Regions from separate parts of the Homo sapiens genome. Here regions 1, 2 and 4 are each linked to region 3. Evidence: promoter capture Hi-C in 16 types of primary human blood cells and fetal thymus (Javierre and others, 2016). All regions are on one chromosome and are shown on one strand. The core of a region is centred on a gene start or on the middle of the fragment in contact, and the rest is flanking DNA. Distances in the headings are between cores, read along the strand shown. Region 1 overlaps MTMR3 (myotubularin related protein 3). Region 2 overlaps MTMR3 (myotubularin related protein 3). Region 3 holds the start of NIPSNAP1 (nipsnap homolog 1). Region 4 overlaps HORMAD2-AS1 (HORMAD2 and MTMR3 antisense RNA 1).

What was found. The method cuts DNA at HindIII sites, captures the fragments that hold promoters and counts their contacts. A CHiCAGO score of 5 or more calls a contact.
Region 1: a fragment that was not itself captured here is called in contact with the fragment with the promoter of NIPSNAP1 in region 3 in 3 of 17 cell types (non-activated CD4 T cells, total B cells and total CD4 T cells); the score reaches 6.2 in non-activated CD4 T cells.
Region 2: a fragment that was not itself captured here is called in contact with the fragment with the promoter of NIPSNAP1 in region 3 in 3 of 17 cell types (neutrophils, total CD4 T cells and endothelial precursors); the score reaches 5.5 in neutrophils.
Region 4: a contact is called between a fragment that was not itself captured here and the fragment with the promoter of NIPSNAP1 in region 3, in 1 of 17 cell types (M0 macrophages). The highest score is 5.3, in M0 macrophages.

The regions. Positions count from the first base shown.
Region 1 is chr22:29,990,969-29,993,745 of GRCh38, reverse strand. MTMR3 (myotubularin related protein 3) reads right to left here. Exons shown (of 20, transcript NM_021090.4): 7 at 2,076-2,242. Among named protein-coding and RNA genes, the nearest start is that of MIR6818, 15 kb to the left of the region's middle. The HindIII fragment of the contact is 985 bases long and covers 943-1,927 here.
Region 2 is chr22:30,016,032-30,018,860 of GRCh38, reverse strand. It overlaps MTMR3 (myotubularin related protein 3), which reads right to left. Exons shown (of 20, transcript NM_021090.4): 15 at 2,163-2,333; 16 at 789-934. It overlaps HORMAD2-AS1 (HORMAD2 and MTMR3 antisense RNA 1), which reads left to right. Exons shown (of 5, transcript NR_110541.2): 4 at 132-244. Among named protein-coding and RNA genes, the nearest start is that of MIR6818, 10 kb to the right of the region's middle. The HindIII fragment of the contact is 434 bases long and covers 1,319-1,752 here.
Region 3 is chr22:29,579,818-29,582,555 of GRCh38, reverse strand. NIPSNAP1 (nipsnap homolog 1) reads left to right here and starts at 1,443. Exons shown (of 10, transcript NM_003634.4): 1 at 1,443-1,571. The coding sequence starts at 1,474. RefSeq lists a silencer at 1,637-1,686 and an enhancer at 1,670-2,282. The HindIII fragment of the contact is 18,053 bases long and covers 1-2,738 here.
Region 4 is chr22:30,034,566-30,037,265 of GRCh38, reverse strand. All of the region lies in intron 3 of HORMAD2-AS1 (HORMAD2 and MTMR3 antisense RNA 1), which reads left to right. Among named protein-coding and RNA genes, the nearest start is that of MIR6818, 29 kb to the right of the region's middle. The HindIII fragment of the contact is 1,111 bases long and covers 843-1,953 here.

The DNA of each region.
Region 1 (2,777 bases), core at 186-2,685, 410 kb before region 3:
AATTAAAAGACTAGACTGAGGTACCTCTCAGGAATATCCTAAGAGTTTGCTGAAATCTAAAAGAAACTCAAATTATCAAGGGACTAAAAAAGCTCTCCTAAAAAGATAAGGACTTTTCAGTCTGTGGTTGTGAGAGAACAGGATAGGAGAAAGCAAATCTTGCTGAGTAAATGCTGGCAACCCAAAATTAGGGAATACCTCTTGGAGTCAGGGGTCTTGGAGTCAGGGGTCTTAAACAAATTAAAGTTCTTATATAACATAATGCAGTAGGATGCACTCATTAAGTTCATTATCCTAGGAGATGGTAGAAACTAAAAATTTAATAAAGAAGATGCAATGGTTAAAAACTCAGAAACTGTACATGTAAGATTTGTACACATCACTGTTTGTAAACTTTCTCTTTAAGAAAAACCCCCAAATTTGAAAAGAGCCATAAAAAATGAAAAAATGTATTTAAAATGTGATGGCATTTCAATAAAGAAAAAAAATAGATGTAACAATCGGAGTGAAGTGAGAGACAGTTTAAGCACATTCTCATAAACTTCCAAGGTTGGTGTGGTCTCTCGTAGGTGACAGGATTCTGCTAGCCTGGACACGCCTGTGAGAAGCTGGGATTCTGAGGCTTTCCCTGAGGCTCCAAGAGGGCAGGTGCTTTTGTTTTTCAAACTCTGTATCCACAGCATCCACCATGGTCAGGTCTGAATAACTGAGAACTGGTTTTAAGTCCTAGTTCTGTCGTCAGTGACTAGCACTGGGACTTGACAACAGGCTTTTTACCTCTGAGCCTCCATTTCTTTGGCTCCCAAAACAGACACCAACCTATCTTGCCTGTTTGACAAGGTCATGAGGATCAAACAAAAGTATTTATCAAAGCATTGTTAAACATAAGATAATGCTAATGCTACAAGCATTTTAATAGAACAAGAATGTGAACCAAAAGCTTCAATTAGTCATGGGGCCAGAGAACAAAGTAACAAAAGCATAGCAAGATTAGCCTCAAATGTTTAAAATGACCCAGGGCAGACTTATAAGATTGAAGATTCAGGATTAAAATTTCAGGTTTCTAGAAAAAAGTCCCAAGAGTAAACTTTACTTGAAGGAGGCTTACAACTTTTCACTGCACAGAAATTTAAGACTTCACTTTGAAACCTGACACACTAAAAGTCAGTGTTGGACCAGCAAAGTTTTATGACCACATAAAGTTTACAAGAAACTACATGCAGAGAAATAACATGGTCAAAGCCATTTCTGACGGAGAATGACAGTGAGGGGGACAAAGACTATAGAGGAGTCAGGAAGCCTGGGTTCCAGAACAGGCTCAGCATCTCTTTTTGGTTTTTTTGGGGGGGAGGGGGTCACATGTTAAAACCTATAATCTAGGCCAGGAGCTGTGGCTCACGCCTATAAATCCAAGCACTCCGGGTGGCCAAGGCGGGCGTATCACCTGAGACCAGCCTGACCAACATGGAGAAACCCCGTCTCTACTAAAAATAAAAAATTAGCCGGGCATGGTGGCGCATGCCTGTAATCCCAGCTACACAGGAGGCTGAGGCAGGGGAATTGCTTGAACCCAAGAGGCGGAGGTTGCAGTGGTCCGAGATTGAGCCATTGCACTCCAGCCTGGGCAACAAGAGCGAAACTCCGTCTCAAAAAAAACAAAAAACAAACCCCACTATCTATTTGTTCTTGATAGGAACCTGGCCTCTCACCAATTAACTCCTATTCAACTTTCAAAGCTGATTCAAAAGCCACTTTAAATGTGAAGTCTTCCCACACATGTATACAAAACTCATGGCTCCTTTCTATCAGGCTTCCATACTATTCATAAAACCTTATTATAGTTGAGCTGTTTTTAGGCCCAATAGATTGTGATGCCTTCTAGTGTTCTTCCCTTCCCCGGAAGGCAGAAAAGATGTTCTATTAAGCTTAAAAGAATGCTGCGCACTTGCTGGGTGCTCCTTAAAATATACACTGATTGATATATGAATGCTTAGGTGTCCCATTTCATGTTAAAAGTACCTCCATCAGTAGCTTGATAAAGCCCCTGGCCATTTGCACATTTCAGAAAGGCGTACCTGGTCTGCACAGGTCTCCATGTTGCTCTTTTTCACTGGCATAGACCTCCATGCACCAAGCATGGTATGCAAATGAGAAGAGATCTTCTATTTTAGCAGGTGGTCGGATTGCGTTGTTCAGTCTCTTCAGCCACTCTTGACACTGCTCAAAGGTTGAAAACTGACACCTTTTGTAAAGCCAAACAAGTATGGATGTAATCAGAAGACAGTTGAAATGAAATGTAAGAAAAGCCATTATTTCAAGAATGCCCACTCGTAGTGAAGTGGGAACTACAACCAAGAAAGCATCTGAGGCAGTCAGTCATTCGCATGCTCATTATCACTTATAAGAAAAACAAATGTTAGCCAATGGAACAAAATGTCCAAAAGGAGGAAGCTGACCATTGGAAAACCTATTTTTTTAGACTAATGAAATCTCTTCTAAGATTAATGACAATTATTACAGAAAAATGGCAGCTATTCTCTTTCATGAGTGGAGTTTCATTCTACTTCTTCCATCGAAGTTTTATGGTTGTCCCTCATAAAAAATATGTTTAGAAAAATCTTTGTTTTGTAGTAACATATTAGATCAAGTTTAAAAAAAAACAGCATTATTTTTAGCCAGTTAGGTAGTAATTTCAATATTTAGCTATTAGGACAAATCAGATCCAAAAGACAGATTGCACTGAAACTTTCAGCTATGACCATGTAGAGAACAAAACA
Region 2 (2,829 bases), core at 286-2,785, 440 kb before region 3:
AAGTAGCACTGGTGTTTCTTGATATTACAGTATTTTAAATTAATGTATTATCTATCAGTCTGAATTTAATAAAGCTAATTCTCAAGTGACAAAGCCAAATTTTCTTTTCTTTTTTTTTTTTCCTGAGACAGGTCTTGCCCTGTCATCCAGGCTGGAGTGCAATGGATCTTGGATCACTGCAACCTCCACCTTCCAGGCTCAAGTGATCCTCCTGCCTCAACCTCCCAAGTAGCTGGGACTACAGGTATGTGCCACCACGCTTGGTTAGTTTTTGCATTTTGGGTAGAAACAGAGTTTCAACACATTGCCCAGGCTGGTCTGGAACTCCTGGGCTCAAGCGATCCTCCCACCTTGGCCTCCCAAAGTGCTGGGATTACAGGCATGAGCCACCAAGCCTGGCCCCAAAGCAAAATTTTCTGTCATCTGACAGCATCTGCCTTTTAAGCCTCAGAAGACAAATCATGGCAAATAGGCAGGAGCACAGAGCACTGGGGAAAACACAAACCAGGGGGTCACAGAAAAACTGGAGGATTTGCTCTATCACTGAGGAGCGGCTCAGTGTATGCAAAACAACATGAAGCAACAGGGCCTAACTCACTCCCAGAAACAAGGATCTTACAGCCTCGTAGCTCAGAAATCCCTATAACTTCCCTGAAAAAACTGCAGAGACCTAAGAAAGATACTGTGGAGCCAGATACCATCATGATCTCTGACCATCCCTGCACACGTCCCAACACAGGAATACACCCACACAGGCTGTCAGGCCTGTGGCATCACCCTGGGCTCACCGGCTCAGGGGGGGATCATCAGGGCTGGTGCCTGGGGCTGGGTATGGTGCACAGCTGTCGTCCACAGGGGTGGTTGGGGATGGGCAGGGCAGGTACACTGCACTCCACAGCATCAGGTTACGCACATGGCACACAGGGTACAGCACCTGAGGAGGGGGGAGGACACAGGTTTAAATATGCCCCAATAAGTCTTCTAGGATGTCTGGAAATGAGGATCAAGAGCAAGCACCCAGCTGGAATACCCAACAGGGCTGACAGGATCTCCACAAAGAAGCAGCACCAATGGATACAGGTCTATCCCAAGAGGACCAATACAGGACTAGACATTTTATATAGCCAACATTTTTCACCTAAGAGCCACTTGAGAGCATGAAAATATAAAATATTTTTTAGATCCCTTTCTCATTATAGTTATTTCTTAGGTCACCTTCAATGTCTGACTTTCATCAGCTTGATTTGTTGCTTTTACTGCCTAAGAAAGTGAGTCATTCTGTTAGATGGTGATTGTCCATCCTGCTGGCACAAAAGCTTGGCTTCAAGAAACACTGTCAAACCCATTTTATGGGATCATTTAAATTAATCATGTGAAAAGAAGGAAATTTTCCTGCTGTATTGTTACTTCCCCAGAAGGCACACTGAAGGGGAGAGACAAGCAGTCAGCTTAAATCTTTTCTGTGATTACTTAAATGTAATGAGAACCATATTAATAGTCCAGGAAATCAGTATGAACTCTGATTAGCCTCCTTTTGACTTCTTTAGGGTCTAAGATGCATTCTGACAAAGCTAGTATTACTATGAAACTGACACATAGGTCTATGTGCCTCCTTTTCTCTGCTTAACAGAAGGTATTCATTCCTTCGGGGAACAAAGTCTTAAAGGGCCTGCCAGCTCTTCATGTGAGCAGAGAATCAGACAGACACACATACCAATGTCAAACACAGTTTACTGTTCTGAGACAGAAGCTTTGGTGGGTATCATTGCTTATTGACACTGGGAGGGTGCTGGGGGCCTGGTGGCAGCTCATTCTGAGCTATCAGTGCATCAGGAAGCAACTTAAGTGCCTCTCCCGTAAGACAGAATATGCTAGAAATAAGCTCTGGAGGCAGTGCCAAAAAAGATTCATGTCTAGGGTGGCAAAGTAGAGATCTGTGTTAAACCAAACCACCCTCAGCAAGTAGTCATCAGAAACAGATCAGAGCACCATCAGAAGCAGGCCTTCCTCAGGACAGAATCATGGGGGAAAAATGGAACCAGTCCATCCAGAGACAGTAGAGATGTCTTCACAAAAACAGTCACTACTCAAAAAGGCTCTCATATGTAACCAACCCCAAATTCCTTCTGCTGACCACAGTGGAAAGGCTGAAGGATACATACGGCTTCTGACTGAGAGGAATACAGTAGGTTTTTGAAAGCCTTGTTGCCTGCCCGAAGAAGTGACCACACGGAACATGTCCGTTCCTGAGTATGCTTTTCCCCTCTCTCCTTGGCGTTGTTGCACAGGAATGTTCCAAACAGGCAGGAATAGGTATGCTGCACCAGTTTCACCTATGGAAGTCCAATGAAGCACAAATTAAGCAATCAGGCATGCACACTCTGATAAGTCAGCTCAGCTGAGCCACCTTATCCTAACATCCCTGAGAACACTTCAATTTACTCTGTCAGGACGGGGAACCCAGTAAGCCATGCAGTAGCCTCCTCCTCCTCACACCACCAATTCCAGGACCCAACAACCTGAGTCAGACAGGTTGTTGGTGCCCCTATTCCTCTTAGCTTCCGTGATAAATAGTCTGAGATTGTGAATTAACAGCCACTCTCACAAGCGCCACAGCATATGAACTGGGTGCAGGAGCACGTCAGTGTACAACTCAAGTCTGAGCTGACAGTATGTTTGTAAAACTACTTGTTCATTCTACAAATTATTGAGCATTTCACATGGCCCAAACATGACTAAGGTGCTGGGCATGTAGCAATGACCAGCAAATTCTTCTGCCCTGATGGAGCTTGCTCTAGTCATAGCTGAAGAGTGACCAGTGCTATGGAG
Region 3 (2,738 bases), core at 194-2,693:
TGCCCAGGCTGGAGTGCAGTGGCGCGATCTCGGCTCACTGCAACCTCTGCCTCCAGGGTTCAAGAGATTCTCCTGCCTCAGCCTCCCGAGTAACTGGGATTACAGGTGCCCGCCACCATGCCTGGCTAATTTTTTTGTATTTTTAGTAGAGACGGGGTTTCACCCTGTTGGCCAGGCTGGTCTTGAACTCTTGACCTAAACTTCTGATCCACCTTTGCCTCCCAAAATGCTGGGATTACAGGCATGAGCCACCATGCCCGGCAGCAAATTTATAGTTCAACTTTGAAACAAAGATAACAGCCCTCTCCCAAAATAAACCCCTTTCTTGCCTGGGGACCAGACTGCTTTTGTAAGACTAACAAATTAGCCACGAGATTAGAAATTACGGTTTAGGAGTCATGCAGGTAGTGGCCACAGATTCTAAACCTCCCCAGTTGCTCCTAGGGATAACATCACTACTGTAAAACCTAAGATTGGTGCTCAAGATATTTTTCCGATCCTGCACTCAATGGATCCGCTGGCGATACACAGATTAAGAAACCGGATCATCCGGTTTTGTGGCCCCCACCCAGAGATCCACTCAGCACAAGAGGACGGCTTCCACTCCCTATGATTGCATCTCCGACCTGACCAATCAGCACTCTCCACTCTCTGGCCCCTACCCACCAAATTATCCTTAATAAAACCCAGTCTCCGAATTTTCAGGGAGACTGATTTGAGTAATAATAAAACTCCGGTCTCCCATTCAGCCGGCTCTGCATGAATTAAACTCTTATTGCAATTCCTCTGTCTTGATAAATCCGCTGTCTGGGAAACGGGCAAAATGAACCCATGGGGTGGTTACACTGACCCTCTGCTGCACATCCCGGACAGCCTTGTTAAGAACCCTTGGTAGGCTGGGCATGGTGGCTCACGCCTGTAATCCCAGCACTTTGGGAGCACGAGGCAGGCAGATCACGAGGTCAGGAGATCGAGACCATCCTGGCTAACACGGTGAAACCCCGTTTCTACTAAAAATACAAAAAATTAGCTGGGCGTGGTGGCAGACGCCTGTAGTTCCAGCTACTCGGGAGGCTGAGGCAGGAGAATGGCGTGAACCCAGGAGGCGGAGCTTGCAGTGGGCCGAGATCGCGCCACTGCGCTCCAGCCTGGGCGACAGAGCGAGACTCCGTCTCAAAAAAAAAAAAAAAAAAAAAAAGAACCCTTGGTATTATTGTTCCACGCTCCCATTTTACCGAGGTGGATCCTGAGGCCCAGAGTGGGCAAAGGGCTTGCCAAGGTCGCAGAGCGCGCAGAGGATTAGAACCCTGACTTCCGTCCAGCACCTGCGGAGTTGGAGACGCCCACAGGAAACGCCCACCTGACCGGGTGAGTGAGGGGGCGGGCGAGCCGGAGGGGTGGAGTTTATTCGCGCCCCGCCTCCGCCACCAGGGCTTGGGGGCGGGGCCTTCCTGCAACCTTTGCGGCTCCAACATGGCTCCGCGGCTGTGCAGCATCTCTGTGACGGCGCGGCGGCTGCTGGGGGGCCCGGGGCCTCGCGCTGGGGACGTTGCGTCTGCAGCTGCGGCGCGGTGAGAGCCCGGCCAGGCAGGGATAGACGCGCGCGGGGTGGGGTGCAGGCGCGGGGGCCAGGGACTGGGTCGTGGGGGAGGGGCTGAGACTCCTCGCTTGGAATCTGGGGGTTAGAGGCGGGGCAGGATCAAGGCCTAGGGAGGGGTCTGGGCAAAGAATGGGGGAGGTGAGAAAGGGATGGGTAGGGTCTTTGTCCTGGTTGGGACCGGGCTGTGATGGGGACCTGATGAAAGATGGTGAGAAGGGCAGGTACTGGGCCCTGGAGAGTGGGAGAGGGCAGAAGACAGGAGGAGTGGCCCATTCCCAGGCGTAGCTTGTGATTTAACACCCACTGGGGGCTTCTGGTAGTCAGCTCCTCCGTCGGGAAGTTCTGTGGGAAAGAGATGATGGCAGGGGAGCAGTGGGGGATCCCCAGGGGCCATGGCTGCACAGACCCTTTGTTCCTCCACCTCGAACTGTACAGGTGGGGAAACGGACCTGAGAGGGAATGGGAGTTGTCCAAGGTCACCCTCCCTGCTGTGCCGTGGCAGCACCAGGTCTGGGACCCAGGCCTGCCAATGCGCCATGCACTTTGCACCCAACTGGTGGCCTCCTGGGAGTGGGAGTCTGGCTGGGCCATGTGCTCTCAGCCTGGGCTTTTGTTTGGGCCCTGCTCTGGGCTGAGCTAGGGCTTGGCCTCCCTGACTGGCCCTGGGCAGCCCCTCACTCCTTGGTCCCCACAGCCCTGTACTTCCCCCATCTCTGCATATATGACCCTGCACAGTTATGACTTGGTGCTTGTCTGTCTCTCTCACTAGACCATGATCTCATTTTTCTCTGTTTCCCCAGCCTCCCACCCTCAGAGGGCTCAGGACTGTGTATGGTCAAGGAATATTTACCAAAGAAGTGAGGCCACCTGTTCCCCCTCCCCCAACCTGTGAAAAGGAAGCAACCATCCCTCCTGCCCTGCAGCCCAGGAATGAAGCTGCAAAGTTCTGATAGTGCCTGCCATGAGATGTTACAGCACAGAGCAGTGGGGCTTTTGGACAGCTGGGAAAGAGGAGTGGCATAAGCGCCCCACCTAGACTGCCCAATAATTAGGGATAAAGCTGACACCGTGGGAAAAGCCTAGAGTTTGCCTGGCACTAACAGATCTAACTCAGACTTTGTAGGTGGGGTGACCTCAG
Region 4 (2,700 bases), core at 149-2,648, 450 kb before region 3:
CTAAGAGGGTAGATTTTAAGTGTCTCTCATCACAAAAAAATAAGTATGTGAGGTAACGCATATGTTAATTAGATCGATTTAAACCATTACACAATGTATACATATTTCAAAACATACTGTATATTATATATAATTTTGTCGATTCAAAAAAGATACTTATTTCAATAATAGTTTCATTTTACAAGATTAAATTCGGATCAAACCTTTTTCACTATGTGCTGTATGAAACACTGGTCTCCATTTTCAATGGGTTGCCTCTAAGAGGCTTTTTCAGGTCCTGTTCTTTTTGGATGAGGGTATGAATATATTTATCTGCCTGATCATCTTCCCTAACAGGCAGCATATTCTTGAGAGCAAACAGTGCCTGAGACAGAAGTCCCATGTCATCTCATGGAATGGTAGGGGTGGGGACATGTGTGAGTCACCAGTGAAGCCTGCACAGAGACTTAGCCTTCAATGACTTACTACATGAAGGCGCCACAGAGCATATCCAGAGCTGTCAGAAGCCAAGACTCTCTGTGCATGCATTGGTTAGGGTCCTCAGCAATGAGGGGTGACAGAGTACCGAGGCAGAACAGGGCAGAGGGTTCCTGAACAGACAGCCAGGCCCTTGTTCTCAGCTTGATCTGGGCTTTTCAGGCATCAGCAGGGCCCTCTGAGGGCATGAGGTGCCTTGGAGGGCAGCAGGGTGACCCGGAAGACATGTGACTGGCAAGGGTGTTCTGGTAGGCCCAGGTAAGGAGAGGCAGAGCCCCTCTGCCCTTGCCTAGGGCAGCACACAGAAACCATGCCCAGTGGCTTTGGGTGCTCTAGCTCATTCCTGTCCAACCAGGGTCAAAGCTTCCTACGACGGAGTGTCATAAATAGACTGACGATGGGGCTTCCCCCAGTCCCAGGAAGGGTTGGTGGGGTGTCGGAATTCAATTACAATATGAAAATAAGAGGTGAACTTCCTACTTGGGGTTGAAGGATAGGAGGGCAAACTTGGCATCGGCGTTCACCCCTGCACTAGGTGCTGACTGCATCCTGCAACAGAGGATAAAAGCGAAGAGCAGACGTCGTGGCCTCTCAGTTCAGGGGAAGCCCCGAGGCATCTCTGGCTGACAAGGCTGAGCTCAGTTTTCAGGCCCAGAACTAGTCCCCAGGTTAATGCCATCGAACTGCGTGGGGGTGCAGGTGAAGCATGGCCACATAGACACGTCCAGATGGGGACACCTGATGCTCTCGCAGTCTCCCCAGGTGCCTGAAGGAGGCCTCTAGAGACTTAGAACTGTGGTATATAACAGGCCTCCATTTTCAGCACTTTAATTTCTGCATGTCCAAGGAAGCATGCGTGGAAGGAGGGCAGAGAGCTGAGCCTCAGAGCAGTAATGCCAAGGAAGTAGGTGAGAGGGCTGCCTGCAAAGTCTCACAGGCCAACTACAGAGGCAGAAGAACTGGCAGGAGGGTTAGCAAGGTGGCAGGTTGCAGAATGGTTGCAAGAAAGAATGCTTTGGAGTGGGTCTAGAGTGTGTGGCTAGTCCTTGGGGACACCCAGTGTTGGGGTGGTGGGGGGCAGCAGAAGCAGGAGGAAGAGGAAGGGGTGGTGGAGCAAAGACGATATAGAGCTGGCCACTCTTTCTATTCGTTTCACAGTGAAGGGAAGGAGCAAGACAGGATACTTGCTGGAGGCAGAGACTTGAAAGAATTTGCTCTGACTTGAAAGAATTTGCTTTGCAGGCTGGAGGACTGGACAGCTTTAGGGATAGAGGAAGGAGCCAGCCAAACAAGGTTGAAAGAAAAAGGCTAAGGCCATGGTGGATGTGGGACAAAGCCCTAGACCATCTATTCTGGCTGTCATTTTGTCACTTACTGAACCATTTCTGTTCTCTAACTCCAAAAGTGTGAGAATTTCTGGCAGAAGAATCTACACCACGGTTTACTCTGTAACAGACAACAAAAACAAGTAAAGCTTTGTTGCAGAGTATTTTTAAAAAACAAAACCAAGACAACTCACTAAAGGTGGTGAGTCAGTTACCTCTAGCAAGTGGGAATTTCACTTGTAATTGTGTACACTTTTTTTTTTTCTGGAGACGGTGTCTTGCTCCGTCAACCAGGCTGGAGTGCAGTAACGCGACCTTGGCTCACTGCAACCTCTGCCTCCCAGGTTCAAAAGATTCTCCTGCCTCAGCCTCCCGAGTAGCTGGAACTATAGGCGCGTGCCACCAGGCCCGGCTAAGTTTTTGTAAAGATAGGGTTTCGCCATGTTGGCCAGGCTGGTCTTAAATTCCTGACCTCAAGTGATCCGCCTCCCTTGGCCTCCCAAAGTGCTGGGATTACAGGCGTGAGCCACTGTGCCCGGCATTGTGTATATTTTTATGTTAATGAACAGTATATTTTAAAATGCAAAATACAATTGGAAAATTCTATAGTAGAACCTTTTGTGTAGTGAAAAAAGCCTCCAAAATGCTTCTGTAAATGAAGAGGTTCATGTACTGGGTTGCTCAAAGTCCCCTGCAGTCCCCACTTCTTGGCAGGACAAGGGAGTGCCAGGAGAGCACTTCCTGCAGCACTGCAAGCGCTCAGTTCCTAGGGGCCTGGCCTGTGCCCACTTCAGCAAAAGGAATGGTGTCTTTTTTTTTTTTTTTTTTGAGATGGAGTCTCGCTCTGTCGCCCAGGCTGGAGTGTAGTGGCACAATCTCAGCTCACTGCAACCTCCGC